Linked DNA regions of Homo sapiens: region 2 is linked to region 1. Evidence: promoter capture Hi-C in human tissues and cell types (Jung and others, 2019). All regions are on one chromosome and are shown on one strand. The core of a region is centred on a gene start or on the middle of the fragment in contact, and the rest is flanking DNA. Distances in the headings are between cores, read along the strand shown.

What was found. Contacts are between HindIII fragments. The study calls those that stand out against the background at their distance.
Region 2: a fragment that was not itself captured here is called in contact with the fragment with the promoter of EPB41L5 in region 1 in 1 of the 25 tissues and cell types used here (spleen).

Annotation. Positions count from the first base shown.
Region 1 is chr2:120,011,449-120,016,272 of GRCh38, reverse strand. EPB41L5 (erythrocyte membrane protein band 4.1 like 5) reads right to left here and starts at 3,196. Exons shown (of 25, transcript NM_020909.4): 1 at 3,063-3,196. LOC107985817 (a long non-coding RNA gene) reads right to left here. Exons shown (of 4, transcript XR_001739205.2): 3 at 4,615-4,633; 4 at 3,569-3,880. RefSeq lists a silencer at 2,851-3,020. The HindIII fragment of the contact is 14,132 bases long and covers 1-4,824 here.
Region 2 is chr2:120,198,863-120,203,631 of GRCh38, reverse strand. No RefSeq gene overlaps it. Among named protein-coding and RNA genes, the nearest start is that of TMEM185B, 22 kb to the left of the region's middle. The HindIII fragment of the contact is 3,485 bases long and covers 1,247-4,731 here.

The DNA of each region.
Region 1 (4,824 bases), core at 1,947-4,446:
CTTTTAGTAGATACTGGGTTTCACCATGTTGGCCAGGCTGGTCTCAAACTTCTGACCTCAGGTGATCCGCCCGCCTCGGCCTCCCAAAGTGCTAGGATTACAGGCGTAAGCCACCTCGCCGGACCAATACTAGAAATTTTAACATGCATATTCCTTACTCAACAGTTCTATTTCTGGAAGGATAACCTAAAGAAAAAAAATCACACATGTGCTTTAAGTTGTAGGAACAGGATTTTTCGGAGCATAACTGATTTAAGAAAATTTTAAATGTGTTCATCAATGTGCAAACAGTTAAACAAGTTATGGTACACACAACAGCATACAATACAGTTGTTTTATTTTTATGTTTTTTTTTTTTTTTTTTTAGAGACAGTCTCACTCTAGCACCCAGGGCTCACTGCGGCCTTCATCTACCATGCTCAAGGGATTCTCCCACCTAGGGCTACGGGCACATACCATCCCACCGGGCTAACGTTTTTTCAATGATTTTTTGTAGAGACAGGGTCTTGCTACTTAGCCAGGTTTGTCTCAAACTCCTGGCCTCAGGGAATCGGATTCCTCCCACCTCAGCCTCCCAAAGTGCTGGGATTACACGCATGAGGCACCAAGCCCAGCCATAATACAGTTGTTTTAAATAAATAGTTGACTTAGATATGACAAAATTTCTAAGTGAAAAATCAAATCACAGAACACTGAAGAGAGTTTCATCCTACACGGAGATGGGATACATGCACACACACAGACACGCTAAACAGACACACACGTAAACTGTTGAGATTCTCTCTGAAGAGGGGCATGTCAGAAGTCACAACAAGAATATATGGCTGGGTACAGTGGCTCATGTCTGTAATCCCAGCACTTTGGGAGGCTAAGGCGGAACTGTTGGAAGCCAGGAGTTCAAGACCTGCCTGGGCAACACAGCAAGACCCCACCTAATTTTTTTTTTTTTTTTGAGTCTCGCTCTGTTGCCCAGGCTGAAGTGCAGTGGCGCGATCTGGGCTCACTGCAAGATCTGCCTCCCGGGTTTACGCCATTCTTCTGCCTCAGCCTCCCAAGTAGCTGGGACTACAGGTGCCCGCCGCTACGACCGGCTAATTTTTTGTTATTTTTTTTAGTAGAGGCGGGGTTTCACCGTGTTAGCCAGGATAGTCTCCATCTCCTGACCTCGTGATCCGCCCGCCTCGGCCTCCCAAAGTGCTGGGATTACAGGCGTGAGCCACTGCGCCTGGCCTAATTTTTTTTAATGGAAAAAAAAAATAATATGAATGGATCACTAAAAGTTGTGGGTTTTTTTTTTTTTTAATGATTGTGAAAAAAGTTTTCTCATACTCACTTTTCCCCTCCCACCTGCACTCTTCCAATTGCGCTCTTCATGTTGCAGCCACTGGATTTTTGGCAACCACAAATCTGATCCCTGTTCTAAAATCTTTAATGGCCCTGGTCCTAGATGCAGCTCCTCCTACTTGCCTGACCCATCTGTCAGCCTACTCCCCTCTGTTTGCTCTGCTCTTGTACTCTTGCTGCTCGGCCGGAGAGTCTTTTTAATTCTGGACCATTTTTCATTAGCTGTTCCACCTTTCTGGATTGCTCTTTTTCCAGTTGACCTCTCTTCCACCCGCTCCCATTTCACTGGACTAACTTCAGACTTATAGTTGAAATGTCTTATTCTCAGAAAAGCAATCTCAGACTTGTGAGTCTAAATTCGACATCTCTTTCAGTACTCTTAGCCTTTTCTTTATAACAAAGAAATTGTAATTAAATATCTGTTAATTATTATCTTTTTTACTGACTACTTCCCCCACTCACACACAAGGACAAAGACTTCGTCTGGCTTGTTCACTACTTTGGCCCAACAGCTGGCTTAACCCGCATCTCGCCTGACACACTAGAATGACACAGTGGAATTTTTGGATGGTAGGTTTATGTGGCTTCCAAAAAACAGTAGTTTCTACTCTAGTTCCTAACTAGAAGGATTTCCTTTAGAATCATAAAATGCAAATTTAAGCAATCCTATCAGAAGTTGGTTAAAAAAAGTACCCAAAACCCAAAAGTTAGTCATGAAATATGTATACTCTTACATGACTGGTGGCCACAATATGGTTGGTTAATTGCTTTTTGATAAAGCAATATAACATACAGCAAATGCCATTTAAGGTAACACTATATTTTGTCCCAGTATTCCCAATAAAGAAAATGCAAGCGAGTAATTCAACAGCAGTTACGCATATCGTTTTCGAATAATGTTAACCTATTTTCTAAAGCCTGCACAGCATATTACATGCACAAATAATCCAACAAGGTTAACTAGAGCTCAGCAACGGGTTATGTTAGAAACTGAGTTAATGCAGTTGTGGGTTACATTACAAATGTACACGGTTATGGGAATTTTCCCCGTAATTCTTTAAAAACTTTTAATATTAGTCTAAAATATTGCCAAACGTTTTAAGAGTTGGGTCTCGCTCTTAGGTAGAATTCGAGTAACCACAGACACAATTAACATTTACACACCAAAGAACCCATCATTAGCACGACAACCGTCCCGGGTGGGGGCGGGGCGGGACCTTCAGACCTCGTCTTTCATGGGAACACACCTGCCTCTCCTTTCCCAAGAGACTGAAGTTTTTCTCAAATACAGGTTAGCTCGAAAAGTCCACCAAGACAGTGACACAAACTCAGTTCGTTTTTCCCCTTCCCTTGCGACTTTTGTCTCTCCCGCTGGACGGCAGCCCAGCGGACCAGCGAGGGGTACCCGCGGCTCGGGGAGCGCGTCCGCTCGGCAAACATTAACCCGGCTGCCCCGGGCCCTCCGCCCCGGCCCGTCGCGCGGTATCGACCGAAACTCGGCGGCCCTGCCTCATTGGCCGCCGCCGCCCCTCCCTCCGGCGGGATTAATGCCCTGCCGGCCCGACGAGAGAGGGGCCGGCCGCCCTAGGGTCTGGGTGCGGCCCCCGCCCGCCTCCCCGGGGACAAGGCCGCTACCGCAGGCGCGGGCGAGGAAGGGTCCACTCGGCTAGGAGCGCAGCGGACTGTACTGCGGCGCCGCCGCCGGGCCTCGCGCTTACCTGAGCTGGGGACGGCGCAGCCCCGGCGACCAGAGCGGGGAAGAGCCGAGCAAGGCTGAGAAAGGGGCGGCTCCTCGGTAGACGCCGAGAAATGGCGCCCACAACGAGCCCACCGGCTCTAATCCCCGGAGGACCCCGACCTCCCGCCCGTCCACCCCTTAAAGCTCCCTCCCAGCTCCGCCCCCAGGGCGGAGCGCTCCGCTCTTAAACGGGCGATGACACCGCCCCGGAAATTGGCCGGCGCGGCGACTGGAGAGAAACCGGCGAGGCCGGGCCCGGCCGGGCTGGAACTAGCGCCAGCAGCCGGGCGTCCGCGGCTGGTTTAAAGGGGCGCTGCCGAAACCCAGTTCCCGCTGCGGCCCTCCGCCCGCGGAGGAGGCGCCCGTCCGCAGACAGACCCCAGTTAGTCCTATCACGAAGGAGGCTGGTGGAGCTGGCTGCTAGATTCATTCATCCATTCGTTCAAGAGATTAAATCCTTCGCAAATACTTATTGAGAGCCTGTCACGTATTTCCTCCCTTTTTCTCCTTTGTAGGGATTAAAATACATTTAAATCTCTGCTGTTAAAGTGACTTTCACTCTACTGGGGAAACAGTAAACAAATAGGTGTCACAAGGTGATTAAGTGTAAATGAGGAAAAATAAAACTGGGAAAGAGAAATAAAAGATTACTGCTTAGCAGAGTGTGGTCAGGAGGGTACTCTAACAAGGTGACATTCAGTCCGTTCATTCTACAGGTAATTGATTGAAGTGCCTACTTACTGTGAGTTCTGTGTTCTAGACACGAGATACGACAGACAACCAAGACAGACAAAAATCCTTCCCGGAGTTTACGTTATAGCAGGAATATAAACGAGACATAAAATAAACGAGATAAATTAGTGAAATTAAATACTGTCAGACATTGGTAAATGCTAAAAAGAAAAGTACAAGTAGGGAATAACCACAGGCAGTGAGGGTTTGCGATTTTACATAGCAGGTCACAATAAGAAGGTGGCATTTGGCTGGGCGCGGTGGCTCACTCCTGTAATCCCAACACTTTGGGAGGCCGAGGCGGGCGGATCACGAGGTCAGGAGATCGAGACCAGCCTGGCCAACACTGTGAAACTCCGTCTCCACTAAAAATACAAAAATTAGCTGAGCCTGGTGGCGTCCGACTGTAGTCCCAGCTACTCAGGAGGCTGAGGCAGGGGAATCGCTCGAACCCGGGAGGCGGAAGTTGCAGTGAGCCCAGATCACGCCACTGCACTCCAGCCTGGCGACAAAGCCAGACTCAGTCTCAAAAAAAAAAAAAAAGGTAGCATTTGAATGAAGACCTAGAGGAGGTGTGGGAGGAACCCTGTGGCCATCTGGGGAGAACCGAAGGGAACAGCAAGGGCAAAAGGCCCTGCAAGGGGACAGGTCTGTCTTTTCAAGGAAGTCCAGTGTGGCTAGAAGTGAGGAAGCAAGAGGAAGAGGAGGTGACAGTCAGAGAGGAAAGGGGTAAGATGTAGGGCCTTGTGGGCCCTGGCTAGAGCTCTGAGAGAGGTGGGGGAGCCACTGGAAGGTGTTACCTTGAGGACCCTCTGCTTGCTGAAATGAAAAGAGACAAATACTCATTGAGCTTCTTCTCGGGATTTGGCACTGCCCACTCCTCCACCACCCCAAAACGTAGTAGACAGGCTTGGCAGCTCATCTCTGCCCCATGTGGTGTTGGCTGGGCAGCTCAACAGGTGCTGGAGCTGCCAAGGTGGTTTCACTGGTCTGTGTGGCATCTCCGCTGG
Region 2 (4,769 bases), core at 1,740-4,239, 190 kb before region 1:
TTCCCACTTCAGCCAGGGGAGGCGGGTCAGTGCCTGCAGTGGAGGGCTGAGCAGCGGCACTCCTGGAGGCTTCCTGCAGCCTAGAGAAACAAGGTGCCCCAGAGCCACTCAGCCCTGTCCAGGTGCCCGGGTCCCTGTAATGATCCATGACGTGCACGCTAGGAAGTTACATAATTGCACTTCATCCGCGGGGTGCCCTATAGGTCCTCTTTCTGGAACACTCTTCAGTCTTTACCATAATCACTTGTGCAATTTCTGACTTCCCCCAAAGTCACTCTGGGAATGCAGGGACTGCTTGCTGCTTTGGAAAGACTGAGTATTGGGTGAAAATTCATTTCTTTTTCACGAGTTCAGAAAGGACTTGAAGTTTCTGCCAGAATTGTTTCTGCCCCTCCCCTTCTAACTGTGCTTTTCTGACTGCAGTATGGATTTCTCGGTTTGGAGATTTTTTTTCACGTGGTCTTGAAGCAATCCATTATTTTAGCTGCTTCAGTTAATTTAGTATTCCTTGAGTTTCTTTTTTTCCCCTAAGAGTTTTCAAATAAGTATATAACTCAGCCACATCAACACTTTTTTTTTTTTTTGACGGAGTCTCGCTCTGTTGCCCAGGCTGGAAGTGCAGTGGTGCGATCTCGGCTCACTGCAAGCTCCACCTCCTGGGTTCACGCCATTCTCCTGCCTCAGTCTCCTGAGTAGCTGGGACTACAGGCGCCCACCACCACGCTCGGCTAATTTTGTTTGTATTTTTTGTAGAGATGGGGTTTCACTGTGTTAGCCAGGATGGTCTCAATCTCCTGACCTCATGATCCGCCCGCCTTGGCCTCCCAAAGTGCTGGGATTACAGGCATGAGCCACTGCGCCCAGCCTACACATATTTTTTTAAAACTGCTTTTGGTTCATTTTCTAGGTCATCTCTCCTTCGATACATCTAAACCCAAGCTCCTACCTCCTAGCCATTCCTTCTGGGGCGTAAGCTTGCTCATTCTTCCTCTCCATTCTTTGGCCTTGCCAGAGGGCAGTGCCAGGCTTCCCTGAAGAAAGAACTTGGCCTCCAAAGCATCTTCTAATGTTGTCTACACTTGCTTTTTTTTTTTTTTTTTGAGACAGAGTCTTACTCTGTTGCCCAGGCTAGAGTGCAGTGGTGTGACCTCGGCTCATGGCAACCTCTGCCTCCTGGGTTCAAGCAATTCTCCTGCCTCAGCCTCCCGAGTAGCTGGGACTACAGGGATGCACCACCACGCCCAGCTAATTTTTGTATTTTTAGTGGAGACGGGGTTTCACCCTGTTGGCCAGGCTGGTCTTGAACTCCTGACCTCAGGTGGTCTGCCCATCTCAGCCTCTCAAAGTGCACTTGCTCTTTCTTTTGATGGATTTTGAAGGTTGCTTTGGTTGCAGCTACTTGAAATAGGAGGTTTTCATTCATCTTCTTGATCTGGTAAGGTCAGACATCAGACCAATTTGTCTAAACATTTAGATTTCTCATCTTTCAGGTTTTTTTCTAAATTATCTATTTTAAGCTTAAGGAAAGAGTTGGACTTTTTGAGTTCTTTATTTTTATTTATTTTTTTGAGTCGGAGTTTCGCTCTGTCACCAGACTGGAGTGCAGTGGCGTGATCTCAGCTCACTGCAACCTCCGCCTCCTGAGTTCAAGCGATTCTCCTGCCTCAGCCTCTCCCCAACAGGAGAGACCATGTCTCAGCCTCCCATGTAGCTAAGACTACAGGCATGTGCCACCACGCCTGGCTAGTTTTATTTATATTTTTAGTAGACACAGGGTTTCACCATGTTGGCCAGGATGGTCTCGATCTCTTGACCTCGTGATCCGCCCACCTTGGCCTCCCAAAGTGCTGGGATTACAGGCGTGAGCTACCGCCCCCGGCCGAGCTCTTTATTAATTGCCTCCAACACTTCCTTTTTTTTTAAATAAGAAAATCATCTCATGAAACTGTAAAGCCCAGATAGGACTGACTTCATAGCAGTCCGCTGGTCCAGTAGCATTTTTTTGTTTTTGTTTTTCATAGGATCTTGCTCTGTCGCTCAGGCTGGAGTGCAGCAATGTGATCATGGCTCACTGCAGCCTCAACCTCCTAGGCTGAAGCAATTCCCCTACCTCAGTATCCCAAGTAGCTGGGACCACAGGTGCATGCCACCATGCCCAGCTAATGCTTTTGATTTTTAGTAGACACAGGTCTCACCATGTTTCCTAGGCTGTCCAGTAGCTCCATGACATCCTCAGGTACCCACATCTATCTGTCTGTGGCCCCCTGTTGGCTTAATTCTCAGTCTGTTCACAAGATGGCTGCAGCAGTTCCAGAGACCAGGTCCAGAGAAACAGGAGAGACCACGTCTCATCCATCAGCTCTCACTAGGAATGAGGAAATGTTCCCCCGAAGCCCTTAGCCAGTTTCTCCCATCTCACTGGCCTCAACTGGGTCACATACCATTGTAAGCGTGCTTGTGTGTGTGTATTTTTTTTTTTTTTTTTGAGATGGAGTCTCATTCTGTCATCCAGACTGGAGTGCAATGGCATGATCTTGGCTCATTGCAACCTCTGCCTCTGGGGTTCAAGCAATTCTTCTGCCTCAGCCTCCCGTGTAGCTGGAAATACAGGTGAGCACCACCACACCCAGCTAATTTTTTGTATTTTTAGTAGAGACGGGGTTTCACCCTGTTGGCCAGGCTGGTCTCGAACTCCTGACCTCAGGTGATCCAACCGCCTCAGCCTCCCAAAGTGCTGGGATTACAGGCATGAGCCACCGTGCCTGGCCGAGTAGTTTTATATATACACACTCATGTATATATGTATATGTGTGTATGTGTGTGTGTGTGTATATATATAATTATGAAATTTGCCATTTTAAGCATTTTAAGCGTATGATTCTGTGGCATTGATTCTATTCACATTGTTGTGCGACTATCAGCACTATCCACTTCTAAACCCTTTCATCATCCCACACAGAAACTGGGTTCCCATCAAACAACAACTTCCCATTCCCTTCCTTCCCCAACCCCTGGTAACCTCTATTCTACTTTCCATCGCTATGAATTTCACTATTCTAGATATTTCAGACACGTGGAATAATAGAGTATTTGTCATTTCGTATAAGGTTTATCACACTTAGCATAATGTCCTCAAGATTCACACACATTGTAGGATGTACATGTGGTATATCCATTGTATATTTATCCATCCATCCATTAATGGACATTTGGGTTGTTCTTACCTTTTGGTTATTATGAATAATGCTGCAGTGAACATTGACTTACAAGTATCTGTTTGAGTCCTTGTTTTAAACTCTAGTGAACATATGCTTTGGGGGAGGATTGCTGAATCATATGGAAATTCTATGTTTAGCTTTTTAGGGAACTGCCAAACTCTTTCCCACACTGGCTGCACCTGCACCATTTTACATTACTACCAGCAATGTATGAGGTTTCCCATTTCTCCATGTCTTCATCAACATTTTCCTTTTTTAAAATGTATAGCGGCTGGGCCTGGTGGCTCACGCCTATAATCCCAGCACTTTGGGAGGCCGAGGTGGGCGGATCATGAGGTCAGGAGATCGAGACCTCATGATGGCCAACATGGTAAAACCCGATCTCTACTAAAATTCAAAAAATTAGCTGGGCCTGGTGGCGCGTGCCTGTAATGCCAGCTATGTGGCAGGCTGAGGCAGGAGAGTCCCTTAAACCTGGGAGGCAGAGGTTGCAGTGAGCTGAGATCACGCCACTGCACTCCAGCCTGGCGACAGAGCAAGACTCCATCTCAAAAATAAAATAAAATAAAATAAATAAAATAAAATAAATAAAATAAAATGTATAGCTATCCTAGTAGATGATGCAGTTGTATTACTGTGGTTTTGACTTGTATTATCCTAATGATTAAGGATATTGACATCTTTTATGTGCTTATTGGCCATTTGCATATCTTCTTTAGAGAAATGTCTATTCAAGACCTTTGCCTGTGTTTTAATTGGATTGTTTATCTTTTTTTGTTGAGCGTTGTTCTTTATGTATTTTGGAGATTCATCTCTTATCAATTATATATTTTGCATATTTTATCCCATCTGTACTTTGTCTTTTAACTTTTCTTGGTAATGTCCGTTCATGTACAAAAGTTTTTAATTTTGATAAAGCCCAATTTTTCTTTGTTGGTGTTGCTCATGCTTTTGGTGTCATATGTAGGAACCCATTGCCAGCTCCAAGGACCTGATTTACCCCTATGCTTTCTTCCAGGTGTTTCAAGTTTAGTTCTTATATTTAGATTGTTGATCCATTGATCAATAATTCTATGAATATTTTATTTACATGATTTTATGAACCATGTAGGGGAGAGGCCAACCTCATTCTTTTTCAAGTGGAAATCCAGTTGTCACAGTACCACTTGTTGAAAAGATAGTTCTTTCACCATTTGGCACTCATGTCAAAAATCAGTCATAGACATATGAGCTTATTTCTGGACTCTCAGTTCCATTGGACCATATATCCTTATGCCAAACCTGTTTTGATTATTGTAGCTTTGTAGTAAGTTCTGACATTGGGAAGTGTGAGTCCGACTTTGTGCTGCCTTTACAGATTGTTTTGGCAACTTCAAGTTTGTGTGTGTGTGTGTGTGTGTGTGTGTGTGTGTTTTAATGCCTTGCGGGGATTTTTTTTTTTTAATGAATTTGAGGATCAGTTTTTCTATTTCTGCAAAAACGCTGTTGGTATTTGAGTAGGATTGCATTGACTCTGTAGATAGCATTGGGTAGTACTGACAACAATATCAA